2 separate regions of the Homo sapiens genome follow, and region 2 is linked to region 1. The links are contacts of gene promoters, found by promoter capture Hi-C in blood cells and fetal thymus (Javierre and others, 2016). All regions are on one chromosome and are shown on one strand. The core of a region is centred on a gene start or on the middle of the fragment in contact, and the rest is flanking DNA. Distances in the headings are between cores, read along the strand shown. Region 1 holds the start of KCMF1 (potassium channel modulatory factor 1). Region 2 overlaps TCF7L1 (transcription factor 7 like 1).

What was found. Contacts are between HindIII fragments. The CHiCAGO score rates a contact against its expected background, and 5 or more counts as called.
Region 2: a fragment that was not itself captured here is called in contact with the fragment with the promoter of KCMF1 in region 1 in 5 of 17 cell types (M1 macrophages, M2 macrophages, M0 macrophages and 2 more); the score reaches 10.6 in M1 macrophages.

The regions. Positions count from the first base shown.
Region 1 is chr2:84,967,995-84,972,792 of GRCh38, reverse strand. KCMF1 (potassium channel modulatory factor 1) reads right to left here and starts at 1,632. Exons shown (of 7, transcript NM_020122.5): 1 at 1,326-1,632. The coding sequence starts at 1,341. RefSeq lists silencers at 758-1,847, 1,878-2,127 and an enhancer at 2,626-2,705. The HindIII fragment of the contact is 10,310 bases long and covers 1-4,798 here.
Region 2 is chr2:85,286,942-85,291,457 of GRCh38, reverse strand. The region is part of intron 4 of TCF7L1 (transcription factor 7 like 1); the gene reads right to left. Among named protein-coding and RNA genes, the nearest start is that of TGOLN2, 39 kb to the left of the region's middle. RefSeq lists an enhancer at 1,008-1,508. The HindIII fragment of the contact is 5,806 bases long and covers 1-4,153 here.

The sequences.
Region 1 (4,798 bases), core at 383-2,882:
GAACACAGAATGTTGAGTCAATTTCAACGTCGCAATTAGTAATGCGAATTTTGAAACTTGTTCTAAATACAATTTTAATCAATCTGAGTTTTTCAGCCTTGAAATTCTAAGGTCCGTATTTCCCAAAGAATATCCTTCCCATAGTGCTAAGCACACACTAAACTGACTCACTAAACTTTCTCCACTCCTACATCACCTATACAGGATTTTAAAATCCGGAGTACACAAACTTTCAAGCCACTTCTACAATCTTGTATTAACCTTAGCAGGACAAACTTTTCGCCAAGACTCTTAACACTTTTTATCCAAAAACCTGTAGTAGTGAAACAAAGAAAACACAACCCCCTCCTCCTTTTCTAAACCATATGGCAATAAATTAAAGTTAACTTATTTCTTACCAGCTCAAAGCCTATACATCGACCCTAAACATTTGTCTCTTTGTGCCCTGGGACTGGGCTTAGAGCTGTCTGCTTATTTGCAACTGTACTCCAATCGTGTTTTAAAATGGCAAAACAAGGTCCAAAACGACCCCCGACCATGAACAGACCTCACCATCGTCATTTTCCAAAACCTGGTCTGGTAGGCAGCACATGCCGGCGAGGGCACCAGGGCCGCGGGGAGCGAGCCCTGCTCCGCCTGGGTGACTGAGCAGGGAGTTTGCTTGCTGCGGCGGGGTCGGATCCACCCCGGGAACTTGGTTACCCGAGCCCAGGGACGCGCCGAGGCCTAGCCGCGAGGCCGGGGCGGGCTCCAGGCGGCGAGGGCTTCCCGTCCCTTGGCCGCAGAGCCTTCCCGCCAGCCCCGCGGTCGCCCGCAGGCGGGGACACTCGCCGTCGTCTCCCGGCGACCGGACGCGCCTGCCGGGTCCCGGGCCGGCTCTTTTGCCTCCTGCTGCCGCCCGCGGCCCGGCTCTGCGACCACACCGGGCTCTTCCGGGGCGGCGGGAGCGCTAGGCCGCGCTGGGGCCCGCGGCTCCTGAACCGGCCGGGCGGGCCTTGGCGTCCGGTATCAGTCCCGAAGGCCGAGCTCCCGCCGGTAACGGGCCCCGCCGCCTCCCCTCCCCCTCCGCCCCATGACAGTGCAAACCCTCCGGCCGCCCGGGCCGCCCCGCCTCCAGCACCAGGCCCAGCTAAGGGCCGCGGCCGTGGCGGCAGCGGCGCCGCGGCTCTCCGCCCTCGCTCGCTCGCTCCCGGGTCCAGCGCCTCGGGCCCGGCTCGGGCTCGGCCAAAGTCTCCGCCGCTTCCCGGCCGCCCTCCGCCGCGCCCGGCCCGGGCGGGGTAGGCCGAGGCCCGGGAGGTGCGGGTGGGGGCGGGGGCTCCTCTCACCTTCATGTCGGGACATCCTAGTTCAGACGGTGGCGGCGCGGCCCCTCCCGGGCTCCGGCTGCAGTGTCCCCCGCGGGGTCCCGGCGCTGCCCGCGCCGGCCGGCCGACTCCCACTCGACTCCCGGGCTCGGCCGCGGGGGCGGGGTGGGCAGGGGAGCGCTCCCGCGGCGGCGGCGGCGGCGGCGGCGGGGAGGCGGCGCGGGGCGGGAATGGGGCCGGGCCTGGTCGGGGCTGAGCTCCTCCAGGAGGCGGGTCCGACGCCGCAGCTCCGCCGGCGCCCGCCGTGACTCCGGTCACTCTCGGGCCTGCCGGCTCCCGGCAGCGGCGCGGCGCTCCGCAAATCCCGCTCCTCCCCTCCCCCGGCCCACCCCCCGCCCCTCTCCCCCGGCTCCCGGCCGCCGCCTCCTCCTCCTCCTCTTCCTCCTCCTCCGCCTCCTTCCGCCGCCCGCACGCCAGCCCCGCCTCTCGCTGCCCTCGCCGGGCCCAGCCGCCCGGAGGCCCCGCGGCCGGCGGTCGCGACGGGGGCGACGCGGCGACGGCGGCTCGGGGCGCGGCGCTTGCCCGCGCTAGCCAGCAGGCCGCGATCGGGCGCCCGTGCCCAGCCTCGGCCTGGCCGCCGCCGCCGCCGCCGCGCCGCGCGTAGGGAGGAAGAGGAAATGCCCGGCGCCGGCTCCCGCTGCTCACCGGCGCGGCCCGAGGGGCGCCCGCCCGCCACGCCGCCCCTAGCCCCGCCTGGGGCGGGCCTAGGCCGGGCTATAGGGGCCAGGGCCTTGGGCTGCGCCGGCCGCGGGAGGTGGGTGCTTCTCGGCGGCGAGCTGCGACTCGGAGAGACTCCTGTCCGCAGGTGCATGGCTTCCGGGCGGGCCTCGGGCAGCGAGCTCCAGCCCCACTGAGAGGCCGCGGACCGCCTGGGGACTTGTGTTTGTGTGTATTTTAAGCCAACAGCCCAGAAAGGGAAGGCGACTGGCCCCCGGTCTTCGCCAGTGTTTCCCGGCCGGGTTACTGGTGGTCAGGAGGGAAGCCAGGAGGCTGCCGGGCTCCGAGGCCGATTCCTTGCGAACCATCTCCGTTAAAGACTCCGCGCCGGGCAGCCCGGGAGTCCGGCGGTACCCGCGCAAACTTTGTCCCAGCGCCTTGGCTCACCGTGAATGCCCTGCCTTGAAAATTTGGAGTTTTTTGTTTCCTGAAAGTGGTCTGCTTTTCCGATTTTATCTGTGTTTTCCATTTTTACCTTCTTATTGTCAATTTGTTTTCAGGCATTATTAATTCAACAAATCTTTGTACTGCCCCTTACCACGTGTCGATGGTTCCGTGGTTTGGTGGAAATAGATCGCGCTTTGAAGTCAAGACGGATCGGCCATGGAATTTTGGCTCTGAGATCCTCTGTGTAACCGTGGATGAGCTACAAGGCCTGCTGAGCCTCCATTTGTCTGGTTTTTGTGGTTGTTTTAATTTATCTTTTTCCATTTGAAGTTGTGGGTTTTGCATAAAATTGAACTGTTACCAGGCTAAGTCAACTGAAATTGGAATCTGGGGTACTGCTTGCTTTGAGGTTACTCTTATACTGTCCACCATTTGCTGGCTGTGTGATCTCTAAACCTCTCTGTGCCCTGACTTTTCTATCTTTAAAATGGACGTAACAACAGAGGTTTAATAATAAGAGGTTTGGAGGTTAAGTGCTAAAATGCATATAAAATACCTAGCACAGGACACAGTAAAAAGATTGTTACCGTATTTCATTGAATCTGGTTTTAAGACACTTCCTGATTTCAAAGAAACTAAAAGCTCATCTTGAAGTCCAGGAAGTAGGTTTTGGGTCACTCAGAACTCCCAAGGGACTGTATTTGGTAGTAACTAGTGATAAACAAACTGGAGTTTAAATGAGGACTTTGTCACCAGAGATATTTTTATTGCCTGTATGGAGCTCCTGCACAAATTTATTCCATTTCTCTTGTAGAAAGAGATCCAACCTGGCCGTAAATGGGGTGTGGTGGAGTAGAAAGAAGGGTATTAAGTAAAGCTCTGTGTCGATGCCTTTCTGAGCATTTTACGGTGTTGGCATATGTGATCCTGGGTATCAGGAGCCTCAATTTCTTGGGCTGTAAAAATGGGGAGAACAACGCTGATCCCATTGTCTCCTGATGGGTAAGTGATGTCTATAAATAAATTGTATAGAGATTAAGGCATTATCAGTGCTGTAGTCTGATAAAATGGTGGAGCAGATAGGAAAGCCTACAACAGTACTGAACTGCAGGAGGGACTAAGAGTAAATATAGAGATTTCATTTGCTTGGTTTTGCAGAGGGTTAGCTAACTAAACAGATAACTTTGTTTTCGACAGTTACTTCATTTTTTTCAGTCAGGCAAGAGTAAGGAGAGAGTAACTAAACCATTTTTTTTCCTCTTTAAATAAGAGTAAGCAGAAATATTATGGTTATTTGGGGTTTTCATGACCTTCATTCACTTAGCGGTCAGGCTGTTCAATTTAAAACAACCTTTTGCTTGCTGCCCTGCCATATGGGAAATTTCATTTCCAAAAAAAGGATTAATTTCCAGCCTGGGCGAAACCCTATCTCTACGGAAAATATAAAAATTAGCGGCCAGGAGCAGTGGCTCATACCTGTAATCCCAGCACTTTGGGAGGCCGAGGCAGGTGGATCACGAGGTCAGGAGTTCAAGATCAGCCTGGCCAAGATGGTGAAACCCCATCTCTACTAAAAATACAAAAATTAGCCTGATGTGGTGGCACGCGCCTGTAATCCCAGCTACTTGGGAGGCTGAGGCAGAGAACTGCTTGAACCTGGGAGCATTCCAGCCTGGATGACAGAGTGAGACTCCGTCTCAAAAAAAAAAAAAAAATTAGCTGGGCGTGGTGGCATCCGCCTTTGGTCCCAAATACTCAGGAGGCTGAGGTGGGAGGATTGCTTGAGCCCAGGAGGTCGAGTCTGCAGTGAGCCGTGATTGTACCACCACATCCTAGTCTGAGTGACAGTGTGACACTCTGTCTCAAAAAAGAAAAGAAGATCAAGAAGGATTAATTTAAATCCTTATACCAAATTGTCTACCAAATGATTTTTGTTCCACTCCAGAAATGTTTTCCTCCAGTCCCTTCCTCTCTCTGCACCCTCCTGAGTTCTCCTTTCTTCTGTGGACAACTGTAACTAATGCGTGTTTTTGCTAGGCTGACCCTTCTTTCATACTATGGCCCAATTATGTTTTTTCAAATAAGCTAATGGATGTAAGCACTGGTGAAATCTGAATAAGGTCTGTAGTCTACTTGATAGTATTGTACCAATGTCAGTTTCCTGGCTTTTGATATTTTTCCATAGCTTTGTAAGATGTTCCCATTTGAGAAAGTGTACCTGGGCCCTCTTTGCAACTACCTATGGGTAAATGATTATTTCAAAGTAAAAAATTAAAGTATAGGGACAGAAATTAGATCAATGGTTACTGGCAACTGGAGCTGGGGAAGGG
Region 2 (4,516 bases), core at 1-2,500, 320 kb before region 1:
GGAACTAGTGGAAAGGCGATTCTTGTTACAAAGTGGGAAGAAACATGGCTGAGTTATTTTGTAGTGTTTTGTGAAAGGTAGAACTTGTGAGTGATGAATTTAGATATTCAGCACAAGTTATTTCTAAGCAAAGTGCTGAAGGTGTGGCTTGGTTTCTCCTTACTGCTTGTAGTAAAATGTGAGAAGTAAATTATTGTTAAGCAAAAAGGAACCAGAACTTGAAAATTTAGAAAATTCTCAGCCTAGCCTCATTGCAAAAAAATGAGAAGGTGTGTTCCTAAGAGAACACCAATGGTGTGGCTGGACGATCAGATAATGAGACTGGGGCTGTGAAGCATGGATTCAACCAACCACCTCAGCAGAAATACTGCCCTTTTGGATTAAAATGGACAAAGACAGGACAAAGGGAAGGAAGGCTGTCAGACTTCTACAGAATGGGCTACAGTGATGTGGCTGCAAACATTTGTTATCTTTCAAGAAGAGGGAAGAATGACCCCAAGAGGGGATTCACAAGGTGTGGCTGCCGCCCAGGGCCTCAGGGGCACAGCTCCCAGCTCCCATCCTGGTGGGCTGGAAGGACAGAGAATGAATGGTGCCAAAGAGGATTATTCTTGAGCATTAAATTGAATAGAACTCTGCTAGCAGACTGCCTTTAGACTTAGACTGTAACTCTTCCCTGCCAGTCTCCAGCCTGCCAGCTTACCCTCTTAAATCTTTCTCCCTCTACACATTCACACTCACTCACTCACTCGCTATATATACATACATCACCTTGGTTCTGTTTCCCTGGAGAACCCTAACACAGAACTGTCCTATATCTTTTTTATTTTTACTTTTCATACCAAGCTAAGCTGACTAGGAGAACTGTTCTATATCTTGATTGTGGTGAACTCATGTATGACTGCAAAAGTTTGTCAAAACTCACAGAACTATATACTCATGTGAATTTCACTATATGTAAATTATATCTTAAAAATGGGGAGGTTGGGCATGATGGCTCATGCCTGTAATCCTAGCACTTTTGGAGACTGAGGCAGGCGGATCACTTGAGGCCAGGAGTGCAAGGCCAGCCTGAGCAACATAGCGAGACCCTAACTCTAATTTTTTTTAAATGGGGGGAAAAGCGCACACGTATACAAATATATGCACAGGATGCTAACTTTAGCTTAAAAACTGGGGCCGGGTGAGGTGGCTCACGCCTGTAATTCCAGCACTTTGGGAGGCCAAGGCGGGCAGATCACCTGAGGTCAGGAGTTCAAGACCAGCCTGGCTATCATGGTGAAACCCCGTCTCTACTAAAAAAATACAAAAATTAGCCATGTGTGGTGGCAGGCGCCTGTAATCCCAGCTACTTGGGAGGCTGAGGCAGGGAGAATTGCTTGAACCCGGAGTGTGAAAGTTGCAGTGAGCTGAGATCGCACCACTGCACTCCAGCCTGGGCGACATAGTGAGACTCTGTCTCGGAGAAAAAAAAAAAAAAACTGGGCTAGGCGTGGTGGCTCGTGCCTGTAATCCCAGCACTTTGGGAGGCTGAGGTGCGCGGATCCCGTGAGGCCAGGAGTGCCAGACCAGCCTAGCCAACATGATGAAACCCCGTCTCTACTAAAAATACAAAAAAATTAGCTGGGCGTGGTGGTGAATACCTGTAATCCCAGGTACTCGGGAGGCTGAGGCAGGAGAATCTCTTGAACCCAGGAGGTGGAGGTTGCAGTGAGCTGAGTTTGTGCCACTGCACTCCAGCCTGGGCAACAGTGAGACTGTCTCAAAACAAACAAACAACTGGAAACCATCTATGTCTATCTATTTTTAAAATGTTTAAATAAAAGGCAACCAGGAAGAGAGAGGTGGCAAAGTTTCAAAGGTGGTAGATATTTCTGCCTTTGCACTAACCTCATCTAGATTTTTCTCTACACCTTCCTCTATCCCTCAACTCCTTACTCTCTAGGTCCCTTTTCTGATTCTGGATGCTCAGCCTAACAGCTAAAATTTGCATTAAAAAACCCCTGAATATCTGACCATTTTCCAAAAAGCTGGATTAAGTCACTCTAAAGTTTTGGAGAACTGCAACCATTTCCAAGTTATCTGGATTATTTGTCTCCTGGTCTCTGGGTCTCTGGCCCCATTTGCCTGTAACTCAGCAGAATTTATTAGGCATCTACCTGGACAGGAAGCATTTTGGTCATCAGAGAGCAAGTTATAAGTATACACACACACACACACACACACACACACACACTCCAGACTGAAATACTATTTAACAAAATGTTTGTGGGTTGTGGGATTATAGATCTTTTTCTGTGCTTTCTGGCATTTTCCCAAGAGTTCTACACAGTGCATGCATTACTTTTACGGTTTCAAAAAAAGATTTTTTAAAATTAAAAAACAGTTCTGAATGAAAAAAGGGGTTGGATCTTGGGTAAATGTGGGTAGAGAAGGGGTATTAACTTTTTACCAGACCATTCATTCTTCCATTCATTCAACAAATGCTCCCGAGCATTACAACAGGCGCTCAGATGCGATTCCTGTCTTCGTGTTGCTTATATTCTAGAGGGGCATATATGTGTTTTGCGTGGCTGGACACAGTGCTCCTGGGGGACACTGGAGGGAAGACAGGCACCTGGCATGTGGGGCCATGGTGAGGGGTCTGGATAATAATCTGCAAGTGATGAAATTACACTGATCGGATCTTACAAATAGTTGCTTATACAATGTTACTGTTAGTCTTTAGAGCTTGTTTTGAAGGTGTAAAGTCCAAATTATTAAGCACTTAACTTCATCCCGCACCCGGGCCCAGTTGTGACTTGCTTAGACATACTTCCTTGTTAGGCAGCTTCTACATGACTCACTAAATCTCTGCAAGTATGCAGGCTGTTTCCTTCGCTTGCTCTACTCCCAGGGCAAACCTCACCTTAAATATTTTACTCCTGACTCTAAAATACATTTCATAATCTCAAGTATTTTAACAAAAAAGCCGGTGTCCAAACCTCTGTGACTCCCTCCGAAAAACCTTCAAGTTCTGCTCACACGTCTAGCCTGGAGAGCCGCATGGAGTAAACTGGGATGTCTCTAGGTCCTCCTTCCACTCCGCCTCTGGTTTGTGATTTGCAATTACAACAATGATCCTCGACTCTGGCTGCCCCTTGGAATCTCCTGGGGAGCTTAAAAACTAAGATACCAGCCGCACCCCAGACCAATTAAATCATATCCTTGGGGGATTAGATGCTAAATTCTATAGGCTCATTATCTCTGTTACCTCTGCAATCTGTCCATTTGTTCTGGCACCTAATTCAGGCCCTCATTACCTCTTAGTTTTGCTAATTAAACAGTATTTTCGTTGTTCTTTCCCTCTCATTTAATAATAGTAGAGGTAGCGGTAGTGGTGGTGGTGACGCTGGGAGTAGTAAGCTAATAGTTATTGAGGACTTATTTTGTGGTAGAGGCACAATTCTAGACTCATTACAATACACTGGCTCATTTTCGCACAACGACTCTATGAAGTCAGTCTCTTCTAATCCCCATTTAATAGATGAGGAAACCAAGGCAAAGAGAGATGAGGTAATTTGCTTGGAGCTGCATAAATAGAAAGAGGTGGATCTGGGATTGCAACCAAGTGTATTATACAGCCTCCCACTCATATACCCTCCTCCCCGGGTGTCTCAGGTTTTGCTCCTGCACGTACACACCTCTCGTTGGAATGAGATGCTCTGCCTCAAAAACTGAGAATGATGGTCTTCTCCCCATCTGTTGAATTCCCAGTTAAGATTTTCTCCCATAAATGTTCCTTAAGTTTTTGAGGCCTGTGTCTGCTTTGCTATATTATAATATAGACTACGGTAATATAAAATTTACTAGAAAACTATCCATGTTGCTATCTATAATGCCATGTGTGGCAACGGTTCATGCTTCTCTGCCCTTAGACAAAATAAGGGACCCCTGCTCCACCACAATGCTGAGTTATTATTTGCAGAGCACACATCTGCAATGGTTAGATGTTTGTTTGGCAGTTGGAACTACGGGTGTAGAACTTTCTTGAGAGTTCTACAGCTCTCTTGATGGGATTTTATATATTTTTTCTGTCACAAACATTGAGAGGAATAAGTGATGATGAAGAGTTGATTTATTTGAATAAAAGTCTAGAAAGAAAATGGAAGCTTCAAAAAGACAAACAACTGATTATGTGTATTAATACAGTATCTTGGAGTCAATGATAAGATTTACAGGAAGCAGAGAGTAGTCAGGCCTTGGCTGTCGGCTGTGTTGCAAAAAAGCAGGAAAATGAGTGGAGTTAGTTATTCGATGGTGACTGAAGCGCTAAGCCGGGCTGCAGTGGAGTGGCAGAATAAAGGAGGTGACAGAGGTGTGGGAAGTCAGGCGGTAAACAATAAAAAAGAAACAGGACGGTGCTCACAGGAACAGGAAGGCTGAACACAGGGTTTTTCTTTCATTTCTCAGAGGATTGCTCTGTGCAAAAGGAAGAATGGGAAACTCAGAGTACACGTGTTAGTTTTGTTTTTTT